Linked DNA regions of Homo sapiens: all the other regions are linked to region 7. The links are contacts of gene promoters, found by promoter capture Hi-C in blood cells and fetal thymus (Javierre and others, 2016). All regions are on one chromosome and are shown on one strand. The core of a region is centred on a gene start or on the middle of the fragment in contact, and the rest is flanking DNA. Distances in the headings are between cores, read along the strand shown. Region 1 has its middle 13 kb from the start of THEMIS. Region 2 overlaps THEMIS (thymocyte selection associated). Region 3 has its middle 32 kb from the start of THEMIS. Region 4 overlaps THEMIS (thymocyte selection associated). Region 5 overlaps THEMIS (thymocyte selection associated). Region 6 overlaps THEMIS (thymocyte selection associated). Region 7 holds the start of PTPRK (protein tyrosine phosphatase receptor type K).

Region 1 (2,700 bases), core at 129-2,628, 610 kb before region 7:
GAAATTTGGAAGTCAATCTGCATCTTACTCAAGTTCTGAGTCACATATGTAGGCTGAGATAATTGAAGATCTGTGTAAGTTACCTTGTTATTTCCAAGCTTCCATATTATTTTAGACCCAGGGATGACTTGTAACCAGAATTGGTCTGAGAAGTGCCATGAGAAACCCAAACCTGTCTTTGAGAATTCTCAAACCTCTTAATCTGGAATATGACCTACTTCTATGGCCTAACTTAAATTATTAATACACATAATACACAACTGAAAAAAGTTTAAAGGTGTTAAGCAAATGTAAGAGGAAAATCTATAATCTTCCTGAAAATATGACAAATTTTGTATACCTGTTTGTATTTTATAATAGTGCCTGTAGGCCAAATGTTGTTTGTTTTGCCTTACAAAGTCCAACTGCTTTCATGTTGAAGTTAAAACCTCCAGATCTTAGCCTGAATTCCAATGCTTCTACCATGAATCTTCTCGTCTAAGCAAAGTGGATGACTTGCTCTTCCAGATCTGTATCCCTAATGCAGTGAGAAAAGATTGTTATGAATTACTTTTCTCAGGGGTCTGACTAGGATATTTTTCCATGCCTGAATGACATCAGTGGCCAAGTGAACGTAATGCTCTGCTGGCCAGATTAGGTCACAGGACCATTACGACATTGGACATGAAATGCCTGGACATAGAGCAGAGCATCAAGTAATCCCTCATAAAAGAGGAAATAGATACTGGATGGAAAAAAAAAGTCTCTTATACTCATCACTTAAGTTCTAGTTCCTTTACCTCTATGAAGCCTTTTCTAATCTTTATATTATTTTCACAATTCTCTCTTCCTTTTCAGTTTCCATTCGCTGAATATTTTTTATGTGTCCATTTGCATGCTTTTTCCTTTGTTCCTGAATTCTACATTTAGGGAAAGGAGATTTGGGTCTACTTTGATTGGATGCACTCAATAGCTCCAAATACCTTCACCAGCACTATGCTAAGAAATGTTTTCAAAAAAAACAAATGAATGGACTTGACATATTTGTTGTATTTAATTGAATAATCTGAACCTGAACCAGGTTAAATTCTACCTACATTCTTACCTTCTCCTCCCCAAGATGACAGAATAGAATCATGACCAGACCTGGACACAGGCCAATGTTAGAGTGTTTGTCTCACTGAGAGATTTCTCCGTTGAAGTAAACTGTAAATTCAGGCTTTTAATCACCAAAGCATTATTTAATCTGTATTTGAAGTAAATATGAACTTCATAAATAAGCTGAATATTTTTCTCTTGTATAACATTTTACAGCTCATGCATTAGAATTCAATCACAAGTACTCTATTTTAGAATACCAGTATTGATTGGAAATGATGATCAAGGACTGTGTGCTTGCTAGAACTTAATTGGGAGAAAATATTGCTCCTAAACTCCTTAGCAAACAGCACATAAAATGGTGGAGGCCAAGTCTTATACAGGTTGAGAATTTATCTGATATGCTTGGGACAAAAAATGATTCAGATTCTTTTAAGATTTTGGAATATTTCCATATACATAATGAAATATCTTGGGGATGGGGCCCAAGTTTAAATACAAAGTTTATTTATGTTTTGTAGACACCTTATACACATAACCTGAATGTAATTTTATACAATATTTTTAATAATTTTGTGCATGAAACAAAGTTTTGAATGAGTTTTGACTTCAACATGAGGCTAGACTTGTAATTTTCCACTGTGTTGTCATGTTGGTGCTCAAAAAGTTTCAGATTTTGGAGCATTTTGGATTTTTGGATTTGCAGATCAGAAATGCTCAACCTGTATTGCTCTCCTGGAAACGCATGTCTGTGAAGATACTAAGAAAAACATAGTTTTTCTTTTTCTTGCCACTTTGTAAATTCCTAAGGGACGATTTCATTATGAAACATAGTCATGTGTCACTTAACAATGAGATATGTTCTGAGAAATGCATCCTCAGGCAATTTCATTGTTGCGTTAATCATAGAGTGTGCTTACACAAACCTAGGTGTGTACTTTTACTGCACACCTAGGCCATCAGGTATAGCCTATTGCTCCTAGGCTACAAGCCTGTATAGCATGTTACTGTCTGAATGATGTAGGCAACTGTAACACAGTGGTGTTTTTGTGTCTAGACATATCTAAACATAGAAAAAGGCACAGTGTAAACATGGTATTATAATCTTAAGGGACTACCATCACATATGTAGTCCATCGTTGACCAAACATTAATATAAGGAATGAAAGGAACTTTCAAATGTATGTAAATGACATTTGCCGCCTTTGTTCCCACTTTACAGTAAAGTTACATGCTTTTCTACAGTAGAGCCAGGAGGTAACTATATAATCTTCATAAAGTTCTATTTTGTTTGAAACAAAGTAATATTACAGATAAAGTGCCAAGTAAAATATTTTATGTGTGCCTGCTATGGTTATCACAACAGTAATTGACCAGAAACACACTTTGACCTGATTTTACACATTACTAGTGAATCTGAAAAGCTGCTACTTATTGATATTGAACCATTTTTAGAATCAAGTTTATATAATTTTAATCTTACACAGATTGAGGTCCCATTGTAACAGTTCGTCATTGATGGATCCATTTTTGTCCTATTTTTAGGAAATTTACTTTTAGAAGAACCACAGAAAACACTTTTGAAGCTTTTACTGGGGTGTGGAAGGAGGTTTATCATACTTC
Region 2 (2,832 bases), core at 43-2,542, 800 kb before region 7:
AAACTTCTTATTTCCCTTGCTAGCTCATCCCAAATTTCTGCCATATGGAAGTTAGTCTGGGTAGCTTAATTGAATGCTATCAACTCCTCCACAAGTCCGTTTGCTTTTGTTTTGCACTCAGTAGAGATGAAAAATATCAGATCACAATCTCTATAAACTAAACCATCATAATTCAAGCTTGCATTCAGTGACTTATCTGACGCTTCTTTAAATTTAAAACATCTCAATTATTTTAACCTCTTTTCAAGACAGTAATTCTTCTTGTTCATTGTTCCAGCAAAAATATTATTATCACAACAATACAAGTAATCTTGAAATATTTCATTGCCATGAAAACCATAAATGAGGTGAAAAATCTAATAGTGGAAAACAATAAACATTACTATTATTATTGTGAGTGTTCAATATCATGCTTCACATAAATCTTCATTTCAATGTGATTGGCAGAGCAGGGTGATCACTTGGGCTGAGTCATATATTCCAAATAAAATAATAGTAAGAATCTGTCCATTGCACCTTTGTCATGTGGACAGTTAAACCACCGTGGTTTAACTGACCTATAGTCACATCAGTACCTGCTATTGCTGTGGCCCCACGGTTGCTCCTTTCTTTCTCTTCATCCACCAAATCATTCTGACTACCAATCAGTACTTTTGAATCCAGGCCAGCTTGATTTGGGTGAAGTTTCTTGGTTATGTCTACGTGATGACGCTGAAATGACACAGGTCACAAGTAAATTATCAGTCCAAAATAAATGCTTCATAGAGATATGAAAGATTTATCACATGGCAATTCATTTCTGTATGTCTGAAACAGAACATTTGACATGTCAAAGCAAGCTACAAATTATATGTTCATCAATATATTTTGGAAACTGAGGTGTACAATTTTTGAAGCAATCTAAGTAACTAGAATAAGAAGTCATTTTAGGCATAGAAAACCATCTGCAAAGACTATTTGTGTATATTACTTTCTTCTTGTGAAGCTTATAAAATATTTTTCATTTAGAAAATTTTTACTTAGTTTTTATTATTATAGTTAACTAATCCAGCACTTCATTATATATTACATAATTACATATTATATAATCAAAAGCAGATTTCATTTCTGTATCATCTGTACTCTTTATATAAAACAAATCATAACATCTACTATAAATTAAACCACATTTTTAATCAGCATTATGCAAATTTGACAAAGCTCCTTTAGTCAATTTCAGAGTAATAATTCATCATAACAATGAATTATTAAGGCACAGCATCAATGGTCCCTATAACTCATCTCACATGTAAGAGATGTCACAGCATTTGACATTATACTGACACACTGTATGCTTCAAAGAATCATCAGATGGGAACAAAAAGTGAAGACTTCAATTGGAAATTAAACTTCCAGTACTTAATTAATTCATACCCAAGTCCAGACTAGAAGTTTGTCAAATTGAATAAGATTACAGAATATGTGAAGATTCTCAGCGTAAATATTAGCTAATCAATTATGGCCATTCAGGCTAGCCATGTTGGCTCACTAAAGGATAGTATAATGGACAACTTTCCTGTAAAGTTTCTCCTGTAGACCATATATTGCATGAAATTCATTAAAAGCTTGATTTTATAAAATCAACCACTTTTAAAGCTTGAGAAAGGCCAATAAGGAAATTAGGCTTTAGAATGATTAAATAATTCACTTGAGTTAACAAAATGAACAGTGCTGAGCCTTACGATATGAATCCTGAACTTTGGACAGTGTTCTTCATGATTGATTTCTTAAGATTTTTAATGTGGTGGACTGGATGTATGGATAGCCCTCATTCTTCACCCATCTCTGTATCCATGTCCTTTCTATAGAATTTTGCAGGGCCCTCCTACTCTGACTTTTGGCCTATCAATGTGGCTTCTTCTGGCCCAATAGGATATTGACACAGAGGCTTGAAAGAGGCTTGCACAATTGTTTTTGCTCATTCCTTAACTTCCACTATGCCATGAGGCTATGCCTAGACTAGCTGGCTGCAGATTGAACATGAGATGGGCAGAGTTAGGTCACCCCAGTTGTCCAAGCTGAAGCAAACAACAGCCAGAGGAGCCCCAGACGTTTGGGTGAAACCAGTCTAGATCATCTGAGACCAGCTCAAGTCAGATGAATTCCACAGCTTCATGAACTAAATGAATGTGATTTTGGTTGTATGCCATTATGTTTTTCTGGTGGTTATGCAGCATTGTATGCTGACGGATAACTGGTACATTCAACCACCGTCTATCTATAGTATCCCAGATAATGGATGTGGTGTGAGAATACAAATATAACATGACATTCTCTCAGACTCCAAATTATTCAAACACAATTTCTTACATTGCTTATGCAGATAATTAAAATAGAGTGTGGTAAGTCATTTGTAGATATTTCTCAATTCCTTTTCTAATGACCAAGGAAGGGATCCTAGCAATACTACAAAAGACAGCTCAAAAGATCAGTTTGGATGTTGGTATCAACTAGAACTAAACCACCCCACTTGTTTATTTTTAGCTCCTCCACAGTCCACAAAAATATAAGCCCATCACTGTAATTTTTAAAATTTATTGTCAGGCCTCTATTATCATGTAGTTTTTGGAAAGAAGCAGATTTCAGCATCCAACTACTTTCCTGATTCTGAATTACATACCTTTGAAAAGTATATTATTATTTCAAGTTATGACATGAGTATTAAATCACAGTTTCTCAGAACTGAGCAATGCAATAGATCAAAGAAGGAATAAGCTTCATGTTTGTTCATACCAAATTCAATTGAAAATATTAAAACATTGAGGGAAAGTTAAGAATTCATGCAAGTTGTGT
Region 3 (2,750 bases), core at 167-2,666, 590 kb before region 7:
AATAGCAAAGAGTTGGAACCAACCCAAATGTCCAACAATGATAGACTGGATTAAGAAAATGTGGCACATACACACCATTGAATACTATGCAGCCATAAAAAATGATGAGTTCATGTCCTTTGTAGGGACATGGATGAAGCTGGAAACCATCATTCTCAGCAAACTATCGCAAGGACAAAAAACCAAACACCACATGTTCTCACTCATAGGTGGGAATTGAACAATGAGAACACTTGGACACAGGAAGAGGAACATTACACACCAGGGCCTGTTGTGGGGTGGGGGGAGGGGGAGGGATAGCATTAGGAGATATACCTAATGTAAATGATGAGTTAATGGGTGCAGCACACCAACATGGCACATGTATACATATGTAACAAACCTGCACATTGTGCACATGTACCCTAGAACTTAAAGTATGATAAAAAATATATATATATAAACAAAACCAAATATTCATGAGTCCATACTGAGATAAAGAAATGATTGAATAAATAAATAAATAAATAAATAAATAAGGGAAAATAGACAAATATCCCAGGCAGGAGAATTCCAAATATTTTATATGGATATTGACCCCTTCAAGGAGATGGACCTTAATTCCTCACACTTTACATGTGACATGTGCATAATGACTTCCTTCCAAAGGGTACAGTACGGAAAGGTGGGAAAAATTTAGCTTTCCAGTTGAGAAGCTTAGCAAACACTACCTTAATCAGGTAATCAAAGTCAACATCAAAAAGTGATAAGTCATGTGGATAGCATGTACCACTGATATTGATGCAGGATTTTTCTTGGCCACTTTCCCTTCTGGAGACCTCCAGCTGACAAAACCTCTGCCCAGGCCCTCCTTGGGCCCAGTTTCATTGCTGGAGATGCCCAGTCTACTCAGGCCACTGGGCTGCACCTGGCTTGCACTCTAATGCAAATCGCGTGGCCACTGCAACTGCACACTCAGCCCCCTGCATTTGATGGGTCCCAAGTTCTTGTCCCATGTCCAAGAAGAATAAGTTTACACTAACAATTAAAGGGTGAGGAAGGTGGAGAATAGTTTTATTGAGCAGCAAAACAGCTCTCAGTGTAGAGAGGACACGAGGGTTGGCCCCAACTCGAAGTTGGGTGGTCTCACTCTCCTTGTGCCTGGGCCAGGGCTTTTATGGACTCAGAATGGGAAGTGCATGCTAATTCGTTTGTGAGTATGCAAAAAAGGCTAAAACAAAGGCGCCATTCAAAGGTGGCCATGGCAGTGTAAAAAATTAATTAGGGAAAGGTAGGTATATGTAAAATAGGTGAAGGGTGAAGATCAATCAGAGGAAAGCAAGCCAAATGGGAAGAGAGTTTCTCAATCTGGTCTGTGGATTTGACTCATGGCTTGGTTTTCAGGCTTTAAACTGTCTTCAGCTTGAAGGTCAAGGTTCACTGGGGACCCGCCCCATCTGCCTACACATTTGTCTGCCTCCTGCCACTATGAATATGATATGATGTGAATAGCACTTTACCTCTGTAGTCTTCCTCCCAAAATTCCATAACTCCAGTCTAATAATGAGAAGAACATCAGACAAATCACTATTGAGGAACAATCTATAAAATTCTGGACCAGTGCTCCTCAAAACTTTCAAGATCATCAAAAATTTTGTACATCTAAAAAAAATGACAAAGTAAGTGTAATATGGTATCCTGGAACTCTAATAGGACATTAGGAAACAACTAAGATAATCCAAATACAATATAATAATACTGATGTATCAATTTTTTTTTCAGTTGTGACAAATGTGCATACTAACATAATACATTAACAACAGGAGGAATTGGATGTGAAGTATATGAGCATCCTCTGCACTATCTTTGCAATTTTTCTGCAAAACTAAAACTATTCCAAAATTAAAAACGTATTTAAAAGAAAAGCAATTATGGAAGGAACTGAGTACTGTTGACATCATAGAGTTGCTGTACCAATCCTGGCTTGCCTGTCACTGTACTTCTTGCATCATGTGAATTCCTATGTTGTTAAATTACTTTGATAGAATATTCTAATTCTCCCTGTTAGAGCAAAGCAATGATAAATGAATATACTGAGTCTCAGAGGTGTGAGAAGAGAATGACAGGACTGAAAAAAAGGAAGAGGCATAGAAAAAACTAAGCTTTTTCAGAAGCAAGGCCATTGTCTCATTTACCCAGATTCTAATGTCATAATTATGACTAAGTTACGCTTTTTTTTAAACTGAAAGAAGTAGTCACTTTCCACAGTTAAAGAAAAACTCTAATTGTTGTCTGTTGTATTATTAAACATGATATGAAAAAACATGAAGATTAGAATCTAGAGATATTTGGAGGTGGCAAATGGGGTTCGCTGAGTTATTCTTGTTTGTCAATCTTGAAGCCCTTACTATCTGGAGAGCAAAAAGAGGTGATGAACCCTGCTGTTTGTTTGCTTATCTTTGAGATATTATGCATCTCTAAACAGGAGCTACAGAATTCTCTAAACAGGAGCTACAGAGGCCCAGTTCATGAGTGGATGTCTCATGAGACTCCCCAGAAAGGGTCTAGGCCCCTCTTGCTGTTTGGGTGGTTCAACCAAGGTCAAGAATGCCACATTCAAATCATCACTTAAAGAAGCAAAGAAATGAGCTTAAGTTAGAAACAAGATACCTCTATCTGAAGGGAAGTATAATCAGCAAAAGAGAAACACAATAAGATCAGAAGTAGAAAAGCAGAATGTGGTAACCAAGTGAAGCTCGAGGTAACCCCAG
Region 4 (2,762 bases), core at 114-2,613, 620 kb before region 7:
TCAATGGGAAAACAGACAAAATACGATCTCAATATAGCAATATATATATACACATGATATAAGTATGTGTGTGTGCATTCTAGGAACTAGCCTAGGATACATAAGAACTCTATAGAGACACTTTTTTAAACTGTGATAAATTATGTAGAAGATATTTTATTCTCTTGTTTAAATGAGAGATAAACTATGCTCATGGATAAAAAGACTTTACTATTAAAAAATTGAAGTCATAATTTAAAACATTTCTATATTAGAAATCTCAGCTCAGGAGGCCTTCATTGAAAATTCTACTAAATATTTAAATAAGCGATAACACCAAAGTTACATAAAATCTTTAGGAAAATAACAAAAGACTCCAACCAAGAAGTTCCGTAAGTTCAACTAACTTGATAATAAAGCCTGGCTAGGATATTACAAAAAAATAAAAACTATAAGCCAATATTATTCCCTAAAAGAGATACAAACATTCTAACAAAAAAAAATAGTAAGCCAAATTCAGTGAAATATGACCCCATTGGTTGTGTTCCACAATTAAAAGCATGTTTAACACTTTTTAATGTAAAAAAAACTATGTAATTATCATAAAAGTTACAAAAAGAATATTTGATAAATGTCAAATATATATTCAAGTTTTTAAAACCTGTTAGAAAACTAGAACTAATTTAACCTAAAACAAACATCATGAATGGTGGATTACTGAAAATTGCTCTCAGTGGTCATGAATGAAATACAGAGATCTTTTTTTTATCATTACCTCTATTCAGTATTATAGTAGAAGCAAAATCCATCAATATTCACAGACAATGCAAATGTACACATAACATATACAAAATGTTAAAGATATATTCTTAAAATTCAATAAGTACAACAAAGAGAAAATGATTTTAAAAATACCATTTAAAATGGCATGAAAAAATCAAATAACTAAGAATAAATCTGAAAAAATACAAGATCTGTACAAAAAATTATAAAATGTTATTGACAGAAATGAAATAGACTTAAATAACTAAAGAGCTATACCAGATTAGTGGGTCAGAAGACTTAATTTAAAATGATGCCAATTTTCTCCAAACCAAAGCACAGCTAATCAAAATTCCAGGAGGACTTTTGAGGAAGTTGATAAGTTAATTCTAAAATGTATGTGAAAATTCAAAGTGCTAAACTTAAAGAGGAATAATAAATTGAGAGAACTTGTTCTAAAGCAGTAGTTATCAAATTTGGCTGTGTGTTATAATCATCAGGAAGATTTTCAAAAACTGATGGTGATGCCTTACCTTTTACATAATTAAATCTTTACCTCTTGAGGAGAAACCTAGGCATTTATATTTTAAAATCAATCCAGGTATTTTTATTTCACAACCAAGTTTGAGAACCATGGCTCTGTAGCATATTATTAAATATAATCTAATAGAAAGTATATATTAGATATTGCATATCCACATTATTTAAGACAGGAAAAATTGATGTAAGGATAGCAAGTAGATGAATAGAACAGCATAAAAGGGAAAAGACCCAGGCATGTATGGACACTATTTCTGAGTAAGGTTAACAGAGTAAGATGATAGAGAAAAGGCAGCTTTTCAATAAATGTCACTGCACCAATTGACTCTGTAGAAGAGAAAAATAAATATTGCTCTCAACTTCAAACCATATACAAAAACATAAACCCAGATAGACTACAGATCTGAAGGTGAGGGTAAACAATAGGATTTCTAGAAGATAATACATATTTTCATGAACTTAGGGTAAAGAAAAAAATTGTTGACAACACAGAAAAAGGAAAATATAAACTGACTACACTAACACGAAAGTGGAAAACTTTCGTCCATTAAAAGACACAATTTTGAAAATAAAATATGAAACTATAGACTAAGAAAGTAATTTGCAACACAGAAAATTGACAAAGAGTAAATATCCCAAATATATATATACACATAAACTCCATCAAATCAATAACAAAAATGTATAAAATTCAACAGAAAAATGAGCAAGAAATATAAACCACCTCTGCAAAAAAGAGTATTTCCAAAAATCCAAGAAATATATGAAAAGGTGCTCAATCTTATTAGTCATCAAGGAGATGAAAACTAAAACCATGAGCTACCACTATACTCTTGCCAGAATGACTAAAATTAAGAAGACTGATAATATCGTGTTACTAAGCATATGAGTTAATTGGAACACAAATATACTGCTTGTAGGAAAGTAAATTGGGTTACTTAAGAAACTTGCTTTTCATTAGCTTCCAAGGGTGAATGTACACACACAATATGACATAGTAATCCTACTTACTTTTATGCCCTACTTAATGCATATACACGTAGGCACACATGTACAAGAATTTTCATGACAAAATTACTGGAAACTCCAAGCCAGAAATAATCCAAATGCCTATTGGCAGTAGAATTAATACATAAATTGTAGTATATTCATCTAATGGAATAACATACACTGAAAATGAATGAACTATATATAAAACAGCATGGATTAGTTTCACAAATATAATGTTAAACAGATATACCAACCAGAAAAGAATACATACTGTAATTTTCCATTTATGTAAGGGTCATAAATGGACAAAAGTCATGATAGTGGTTACACTTGAGGGAGATAGTATATAATGACTGAGAAAGAGCACAGGATAGGGCTTCTGGAATACTTGGAATTTTCTATTTCTGGACCAGGGTGGCAGTTACATGAATGTGTTTACACTGTGAAAATGATCAAGGTATTTAGTTTTTTCCCTCTTAATTGAAGTAAAA
Region 5 (2,705 bases), core at 3-2,502, 640 kb before region 7:
AGTTTGAAATACTGCAAGAATTACCAAAATGTGGCACAGAGACACAAAGGGAGAACACATTGGTGGAAAATGGTGCCAATAGAATTGCTCGATACAGGTGTGCCACAATCCTTCAATTTGTTAAAAAAGAAAAAGCAATATTTACTTGTGAAGCACAAAAAAAAATGAAGTATGCCTGTATGCATCTGTTCAAGAGTTTTAACCACAGGGAAAGGATCAGGAAAATGCTAGTTCTCATTTGAGATACACTAATCAGAAATAAAACCCAGGGTGGCTACACAACATGCAAAGACTAATCAAAGGTCCATGCTCTTAAAACAACTACCGCAAATATCACATGCTTTTGTTTCCTATTAATACAGGCTTTGTTAATTAGAATAATGGTTTTTAGTAAGGCTGCTTCATGGGTGAAATCAGTGGTGTTCAAAATGTGTTCATTAGTTGCAAATATAACATAGGCATTCCTGTTCTTGCAAAGTGGTATAAGAATCTTGTGAACCCAACATGGGCCCTATGCTCTACCGTTCCAGCTCAGCAGCTGATTCAAAACAGTTTTGTTACCTGATTCTAACTAGAAGGGTAGCTGAATCCTGCTGCTGAAACACAGTTGCAGAAGTCTCTAATGAACTTTTCAGGCAAGGTACTGTCAGACAGCTTCAAAAGACAGCTGGGACTACATCAAGCTGACACGTGGCCATATAGCTGTTATTATATCTATTTGCAAAAAAAAAATGCTTTTTACATTTGGCAAAATTTGATGTTAGACTTTTTTTGGTTGTACTAGGCCTTCAGGTTTATGGGGTAAGAGACTGATAGCTATCATCTACTTTCAAGAACTGAAGGCTATGAGTATCGACCAAAAATAACCAAATTAAGGTGAATGACAAAATGGATTCTGGTCAGTTGGGACCAAAAGTCATTTTCTCCAGAAAGGTTGGCATGAATTTTTTTCTAGTGACTCTTAATAAATAAGATGAGATTAATACTTCTCAATAAATTAATAAATAGAAATTTCTGAATATTACTGAGCAGTGAGCCTGTGGTTTTCTAAAAACATGATGCTTTCTTGAATAATTCTGCTTTGTCTTTCAAAGGGATCTGAATTAGAAAAGCAACTAGCATGAAGCCCAGCAGTAAAAATAAAATGCTATAGGTCACTTGTCAGATGAATGGCATCTATCAGTAGTTAATTTCCACTGTCAGGTTTTTAATGAATTGCTTATTGTTTCTAGTAAGAAGAGAAATTTCTTAACAGCAGAAATTAAAAATTGTATTCTTGTTTATATCTTTGTGGATTAAAATACTAATTTAAATGGTAAAGCCTCTGTTACAATAAGAAGTAATTTGCTAGATGTCAATTTAGGAAAAAAAATCTTTTTCAAAAGAATGCTATTTCTAATGCACAGAGGAAAATGTTCTCTGAGGTATATTACATGAAAATTTCGGTGTTCTAATTATTGTTGACAGAAACAATATCAATCCAGGAATGATCCTCTAACCTGTTGAGCATATGTTAACAAATAGCATATCTTAAAATGCCTTTGTAACTCTTATGTCTAACTCTGCAAGAGGCTTGGACTTTTTTGAGAGTTAGGGCCATGATGATTGTGTGATCTTTATTGCTCCAAATTCAGCATCCTGACAGGTATTAGGTAGCCACTCAAAGAGTGTCAGCTGGATAAATGAATATTCTTGGACATTCATTTACTCATTGATTATCTGTTTCCTTATATTTAAGTATCATGAAGAAAGATAATTGTTGCTCCTGTTAATATGAAAAGAAAGTTTTATTCTTCTCTTTATTGATAATGGCTGAAATAATTTTCTAAAAATGTGTGTAAATGTCTCTGTAAAATGAGATTAGTTTCAGTGATCTAGAATGCTGTGTCACTCTGAAAAAAAAAAAAGAACAGATTTACCAGAAATGTAGAATATTGCTTTTTTAAAAAATGAGCAAATTATTTGCGGGCAGGGTGTAGAAAAAGAAAGAAAAAAAACGAGGACTTAGTGCAGTCGGGGAAGAAGGATGGAGAAGCTGCCTCTGGCCTTCCGTGAGCTGGAGCTGCTGGACTGGATCCTAACCAAGCTGGTCTTCAACTATTTACAACCCGGCTGCCTAGGCCACTTCCACAGTTTGGTATTTTCCCTACCAGCTCCGGGAAATGCGCCCCCACCTCGGGCACCTGATTTCCTCCCAGCTGCGAAGCCCACCCTGCCCAGACTCCTCCCCCGGGTGTAGCCCAGTCACGCAGGTTACAGCCATGCCGTTTTCCTCCATTTTTTAGGCATGCAATGCATGTACAGTTGATCTGCCACTTTTTAGGTGCCATCTCTATTATTATCCTCTAATTATATTATGTATCTTTTCTTTGAATGAAAAATTTGATGGCTGGGGCTTTTATTTTATATGTTCCCCTTTTCCATGCATCATGTTTCACCACAGCATACAACAGGTGCTCAAAGTAAATTTGCGTCAAACAGTACATTAAAATTATCCAATCTCATTTGTCTAAAGTTAAAAGGAGGATGGAAGGGAGGGAAAAATGGAGGGCAAGCCTGTATCTCATCTAAGATTAGTTCAAATTACCATTATTTCAAAATTCCATAAACTCTTTGAGCAAGCCAAATAGCTGCTGATCTTTATTTAATTACTGGAATAAATATATATGCTGTGTTTAGATAGATGGGTTAGGACAACTGTTAGT
Region 6 (2,734 bases), core at 219-2,718, 660 kb before region 7:
TCACATAAGGAAAAGACTATCATGTAAATAATAATCTTTTGTAATTTCTCTTTAATATTTCGTGACTTCCAATGTTCTTCAACCAAGAAAGCTGTTAACTCATTTTTAATAAAGAAAGTGTTCAGAGATGTCCAGCACTAGAAAGCTAGAAAGTTATGTCTATGATAGGTGACAGGGACATATAGCAAAGCTTAAGTCGCTAAAACTGGAAATCTTGTATTTTATTATCACCAATATAATGTGTCTTAAAATATATTTTTTCCTTCTTGATAAGTTAAAATGGTGAATTTTAAAAATATCCAACTTTCATTATCTCAAAACAAACACATAATATGTGTAATTGCTTTTAAAAAAATTGCTGAGATATGTGTCTGAAATATATCTGTGTATATATAGACATACATATTAAAATGGCTTTCATTTCATTTTAACCATAAAACATGTATTTTGAATAAGCAAATCTCGAATCTATTAAATCTTTACAGACTGATTCTATCCAAGTCAAAGCATATGTATTCAGAATAATGCCAAACATCAGAGAAAGCTGGAACAAAGCAGCCTGTTTTCAGTGATCAAACATTGCCCCTGAAGGCTGTAATGAAAGAGCCATGTGCCTTTGAAATCACCTTTTCTGTAATGCTACTTTGCTCAATAAAAACGACACATTAATATCCTTTTATGAGCTCATCCCTTGTTTGACAATCCATATAAGCAATGCTGTGATCACATCAGAACAGCCAAAACAATTGGTTCAATAGATTTTCTTCCATCTTCCCTACAAAGTTAAAAACGTGTGACAGTCAGCAAATAGGAAACTGCATTGGATGTTTCTCCCCTTTACTCAAATGCACTCTCCCTCCATTACTGCCTGCCCTACCACCCCCTGCCACTACACCAGGCCACCCATCCCTTTACATCCTTATTAACTTGTCAAAGTCCAACCAATTCCAAAGCTTCAGCCCATATTTATCATTTTCTTCAAAGCCTTCCTTGATCCCTACACCTAAGTAAGAATTAATTCTCTCCTCTGTGCTCTGATAGCACTTCATGCGTATCTCCATTAAAGCCTTATGTGATTATTATCACTCTTTCAATTGGAGTGTTATGTATATTTTGCAATTTATTATGATTTCCTAGAGAAGAGACATTATCTTAACTATATGTATACCTCCCCCACAGCTAGTAAAACAGTTTTTTTTATCACTTATTAGATGATTAGTGAATGTTGTTATAATTTTGTGTCATTGTAAAATGACAATTAATTGTTGTGAACATAATAGTGGTCCTTCTACATAAGGAGTTTAAAGCATGGTCAAGTCAAAGGTTTTTGCATGGGTTATATCTTTATTTGGTATGTTTGATATCAAATATACAAGTGAAGTATATACAAGCTGACTATGTTGTGAATTCTCTAGACAAGGAGTAATGAGGGTAGTGGTTCTATAATATGAATCTCTACTAGTTAAGTTTGCATAAAGAGGGAGCTCATGTGACCATCTGAGATATATTTTTATAAGCTAGGAAATTATATCTGCAAAGTATGGCTGATAGTGTCTGATAGAACCATATCCACTGGGGTTGCCAGTGGAGATGCAACTTTGCTCATTATAAATAGGTGTGATTATTTTTTGCTTCAGGATAGCACAAATTATCAAGAAGGAGCATCCCTCTAAAGGAAATGTTTAAGTGTAAAACTATTTTATTGGCAATTGTGTACCTAGACATGGCAGTTGATGTGGCATTGAGACCATTATGGTGATAAATTCAATTTTCCAAATGAACCTCTAGATAGGCGACCACAGGAATGAAGTTCAAAAGAGGCCATGGTTGCAATAGACATTTATATGGCCAGTCTTCCACAAAGAGATGGTCTGCATTTCCTGTAAGGCAGAGACAATGTCATTCCCACTCTATGAAGAATGTGTCTAAAAATAAGTGAGCATGATATTTTAATGCAGGGTACATATAAGTAGACACGAAAAAGCAAGCTTTCAGCTTTACTAAGGGTGGATACTCCCAGTTGGACACTAGATATAGCACTAAAGGTACATCTGAGAAATGCTAGGAAATGATCTTTCCAGGCCATAGAGACTCTCTCATCCCCAAAATATCAGTATTAAGAAGGCAAGGCATTGGGATTACATAATAAGAAAAGTTATGGCTGTGCTAAGAACTAAGGTAAAATCTCCCTAACCTCTAAGAATATAGGATTTTTCTCGTGAATTGGGGGTTTAAGTATTATCCAGGAAGTCAAGCCTAAAGACTGAAATATGCAAAAGACTGTAGGAAATGTTGGTGAGTCTTACTTAAAACATCTGAACATGGGGAAGCAATAAAAGTTCCTACAGATTGGAAATGCTGGGGCCTGAGAGCCAAAAATAAATAAATAAATAAATAAAATCAGATTAAATAAGTACTAGGACCAAAACCCAGAAAAGAACAACATTTCAGTCACTCTGAGTGATGTGTAAGAAATTCAGGTGACTAAGTTTCAGTGATAGAAGAAGAATAAATCACTGTTTCGTGCATTAGCTAAAAACGTATTTGTTTAATGGTAAATTTATTAATTTAATAGATTAAATAAAACTGTACTAAGAGGGCTTACAAGTGGTTGTCATGATAGAAGTCATCATTGTGGCTCATTGAGTAAACATTATCAGAGCAAAGGGATTTGAGGGTGTGTGTATGAAATAAATATCCCTCCTGTGTATCCACAGAACACTTATCTATGATT
Region 7 (2,842 bases), core at 86-2,585:
AACCAACCTACACGAAGGATAACAAAACTGGAGGGGAACAGAGGGCGGGACCGGGAGAGCCAGGGTTCACGGACTTCTCTGAGCGGCTTGACCGAGAACCCCCAGGGCTACAGCGAGACGCTCCACTTGTCTCCTTTTGGGTTCTCCGGCAGAAGGCAGACATTTACAGTCCGCTTCCAGCCCCAGGCCGGATCCGGGGAGCGCGGGGCCAGAGCCCCAGGCCGGATCCGGGGAGCGCGGGGCCAGCCTGGCGGTGGTTTTGCCCGAGGAGCGGGCTCCCACGCGCGAGTCAGGCTTCCTCCACCAGGCGCCCAGACCTCGATGCCCATGAACGCTCAGAGTGGGTCCTTAGAACCGCATTTCAACACATCTTACAGGGCTCCGCCAACACACACACAGAACATGCTCCAAGCAGTGCCCGAGCGCACAGGGCAAGCCCGGGAGCAACCCAGAGCTGGGGGAGGAGAAAAGGGGACTCCGGGAGGGACGGGGAAGTAGTTAGACAATAGTCAGGGGAGGTTATTCCCGGGACAAAAAGCACCTGGCAAAGCGCGCCGAGGTCAGTCCCTTCGAATCTCCACATTTCTGACAATGGCTTCCCAGGGAATTTGTTTAAACACCCAAGTGGCAGACAGCAACAAACCCGCACCACAAGCAACAGAGTGCCGTCACGGGAGTCGTAACTACTTTTTCTTTCTCTCTTCCCCACTAGCCCGGCGCAGGCCACGCGAGACGCCGAAGCCAGCAGGTCCCCACACTCTCCGGCTAGACCGTGCCAGCCTGAGCCCCGAGCAAGCTTCGGAGAGGAACAATGGGTGCCCCGCGTCCCACCTGGCACGAACTCTGGGGACAGCCCTCCCTCTACCCTGTGTTCCCCACCCCCGGACAGAGAGAGCTCCCCACGATCCTTGTCCCCAGCCCTAGCGGGGACCTGGCTCACCCCTCGTGAGCCCAGGACTCCAGGCGTTCGTCGGGGACGCCCCCCGGCCACTCACCTGCGGAGAACTGGCCTTGGGCCGATCCCAGGAGAGGCCAAGGAGAGAGGAGCAAGAGCGCCACAAAAGCAGGCAGCGCCGCCGCCGCAGTCGTATCCATGCCGAGTTTGGGAGAAGTTTCAAGCAGCTTTGCAAAGAGCTGCCGGGGGGATCGCCGCGAAATCCACGACGGAGGAGCGGGCCGGGCCTCGCGGGGTGAGGACGGTGAGAGGACAGCCGCCCGCCCGCCCTTTTTCCTTCTTCGCGGTCGCCAAACTACCTCAGGGGCGAAAGCGTCGCCAGCGTCGCCGGCCGGCCGCGGCGGCAGCTCTCCATGCTCGGCGGAGGCTGCTCCTGTTAGTCAAGAGTTACTTTGCTCGGGGAGGGACGGGGGCGGAGCCGGGGGTGACGTCGCCCCGCGGGCTCCGGGCGCTTCTGAGGAATGCGGGCTCGGGCGCGGCGCCGCCACCGCCTCCTGCCGGAGAGACGCGCGCCAGCCCCGGCCGCGCGCCCCGCGCCGCCTTTGTTCGCAGCCTGGGCCCCGCCGCCAGCCGCTGCTCGGAGGGAGCGAGCGAGAAAGGGGAGCCGGCGCAGCTCGCTGCCCTGTTCCAGAACTCAGAATTTGAGAGGCGAGAGTTCGGTAAGCCGTGCGACCAGACGACCGAGGACGCGCGCAGAGAAACCCCCGCCGTCCGAGGAGAGGCGTCCTGGGGTTCCGTCCCAAGGTGGAGGTCCCCCCGAGCGGTTGCTGATTGAAAGGGGAGTGTGGAAGCGCCCTGAGGAAACACCCGCCTGCCTTGAAAACTCCCCGTTCCTTATTCTTGTAATAAGGAATAAGACACCCCACCCCCATCGAAAACTTGTCCCTTATTCATAGAATAAATAAAACTTGAACCAGAATAAACGATCAGTAACTTTCCAGCGTGAACAGCTGGCGTGTCTCCTTTCTGGTTTATTTGTCATTGGCCAAGTATTTGGATTTACTCTGCTTCACTGACTTTGCTTGTTGCTCTGAAACCCTCCGGCCCCTTTCCAGTTCTCACCTAAGAACTGCATCAGGGCTTATTATCCCTTCCTTGCACCTAGGTCTGGTGTGTGTGTGGTTTTGTTTTTTTTAATATCTAGTAGGTAGTTAAGACATAAGTATTTAACAAAAGGACTTTTACACTGACCATGAAAACAGCTTCTTCGGAATGATTCATCTGGCAGAAAATAATGCTATATTATGACAGTAAAATATTTCACAGTTAACTACTTCAGCAGCTTGAAGTGGTTTCGCCATATGCCACCCTGCCTTACTTCTGTGGTAAGACTGTATGGTGCATACTTTATTCATTTTTGTAAAATGTCACAAAAAATAGGTATGGTCACAATTGAATAACATAATAACTTTGATTCAGAATTTTTATGTGTTATGTACAATTGCTAAAACAATAGTCTGTTGATTGACATCTCTCAGTTTCTCAGACATCTTAGCCTTTGTAAATCAAGACAATGTGAAATTCATTTTAATATAACATTCACATAATTTACCAAGCCACATATTCTTTTAATCAAATATATGCTATTAATGACCAGACTTATGACAGAGCCTGTGGAAACAAAAATGTAATAAATATACACACAAATATATACATATATAAATACATATTATACACACATACATATCAGGCAGAAAAGACTTTTAAAAATTCTATGAGAATAGTAGCCTGCTCATTAGCACACTGACTAGCTCAACCCTTGTCAATTCAGTTCAGCATAGTTAAGTTCATCCTTCCTTAGGGTGCAATGTAGATTTTTTTTTTTTAACTCATTAACCTATACCTTTCAACACACCATCACCATTCCATTTCTTTAATTAGAGAACA

The links. Contacts are between HindIII fragments. The CHiCAGO score rates a contact against its expected background, and 5 or more counts as called.
Region 1: a fragment that was not itself captured here is called in contact with the fragment with the promoter of PTPRK in region 7 in 1 of 17 cell types (fetal thymus); the score reaches 12.6 in fetal thymus.
Region 2: a contact is called between a fragment that was not itself captured here and the fragment with the promoter of PTPRK in region 7, in 3 of 17 cell types (fetal thymus, non-activated CD4 T cells and total CD8 T cells). The highest score is 9.9, in fetal thymus.
Region 3: a fragment that was not itself captured here is called in contact with the fragment with the promoter of PTPRK in region 7 in 2 of 17 cell types (fetal thymus and naive CD4 T cells); the score reaches 8.8 in fetal thymus.
Region 4: a contact is called between a fragment that was not itself captured here and the fragment with the promoter of PTPRK in region 7, in 1 of 17 cell types (fetal thymus). The highest score is 16.7, in fetal thymus.
Region 5: a contact is called between a fragment that was not itself captured here and the fragment with the promoter of PTPRK in region 7, in 1 of 17 cell types (fetal thymus). The highest score is 18.2, in fetal thymus.
Region 6: a contact is called between a fragment that was not itself captured here and the fragment with the promoter of PTPRK in region 7, in 8 of 17 cell types (fetal thymus, naive CD4 T cells, naive CD8 T cells and 5 more). The highest score is 23.1, in fetal thymus.

What each region holds. Positions count from the first base shown.
Region 1 is chr6:127,912,481-127,915,180 of GRCh38, forward strand. It overlaps a transcript of THEMIS not described here. Among named protein-coding and RNA genes, the nearest start is that of THEMIS, 13 kb to the left of the region's middle. The HindIII fragment of the contact is 2,565 bases long and covers 97-2,661 here.
Region 2 is chr6:127,719,113-127,721,944 of GRCh38, forward strand. THEMIS (thymocyte selection associated) reads right to left here. Exons shown (of 6, transcript NM_001010923.3): 5 at 576-711. Among named protein-coding and RNA genes, the nearest start is that of LINC02536, 57 kb to the left of the region's middle. The HindIII fragment of the contact is 619 bases long and covers 984-1,602 here.
Region 3 is chr6:127,931,911-127,934,660 of GRCh38, forward strand. No RefSeq gene overlaps it. Among named protein-coding and RNA genes, the nearest start is that of THEMIS, 32 kb to the left of the region's middle. The HindIII fragment of the contact is 1,446 bases long and covers 694-2,139 here.
Region 4 is chr6:127,895,491-127,898,252 of GRCh38, forward strand. All of the region lies in intron 1 of THEMIS (thymocyte selection associated), which reads right to left. Among named protein-coding and RNA genes, the nearest start is that of THEMIS, 4.2 kb to the right of the region's middle. The HindIII fragment of the contact is 7,514 bases long and covers 1-2,762 here.
Region 5 is chr6:127,877,729-127,880,433 of GRCh38, forward strand. All of the region lies in intron 1 of THEMIS (thymocyte selection associated), which reads right to left. Among named protein-coding and RNA genes, the nearest start is that of THEMIS, 22 kb to the right of the region's middle. The HindIII fragment of the contact is 3,125 bases long and covers 1-2,705 here.
Region 6 is chr6:127,858,299-127,861,032 of GRCh38, forward strand. The region is part of intron 1 of THEMIS (thymocyte selection associated); the gene reads right to left. Among named protein-coding and RNA genes, the nearest start is that of THEMIS, 41 kb to the right of the region's middle. The HindIII fragment of the contact is 1,035 bases long and covers 952-1,986 here.
Region 7 is chr6:128,519,264-128,522,105 of GRCh38, forward strand. It overlaps PTPRK (protein tyrosine phosphatase receptor type K), which reads right to left and starts at 1,336. Exons shown (of 30, transcript NM_002844.4): 1 at 996-1,336. The coding sequence starts at 1,095. RefSeq lists enhancers at 510-1,103, 1,104-1,698. The HindIII fragment of the contact is 3,706 bases long and covers 795-2,842 here.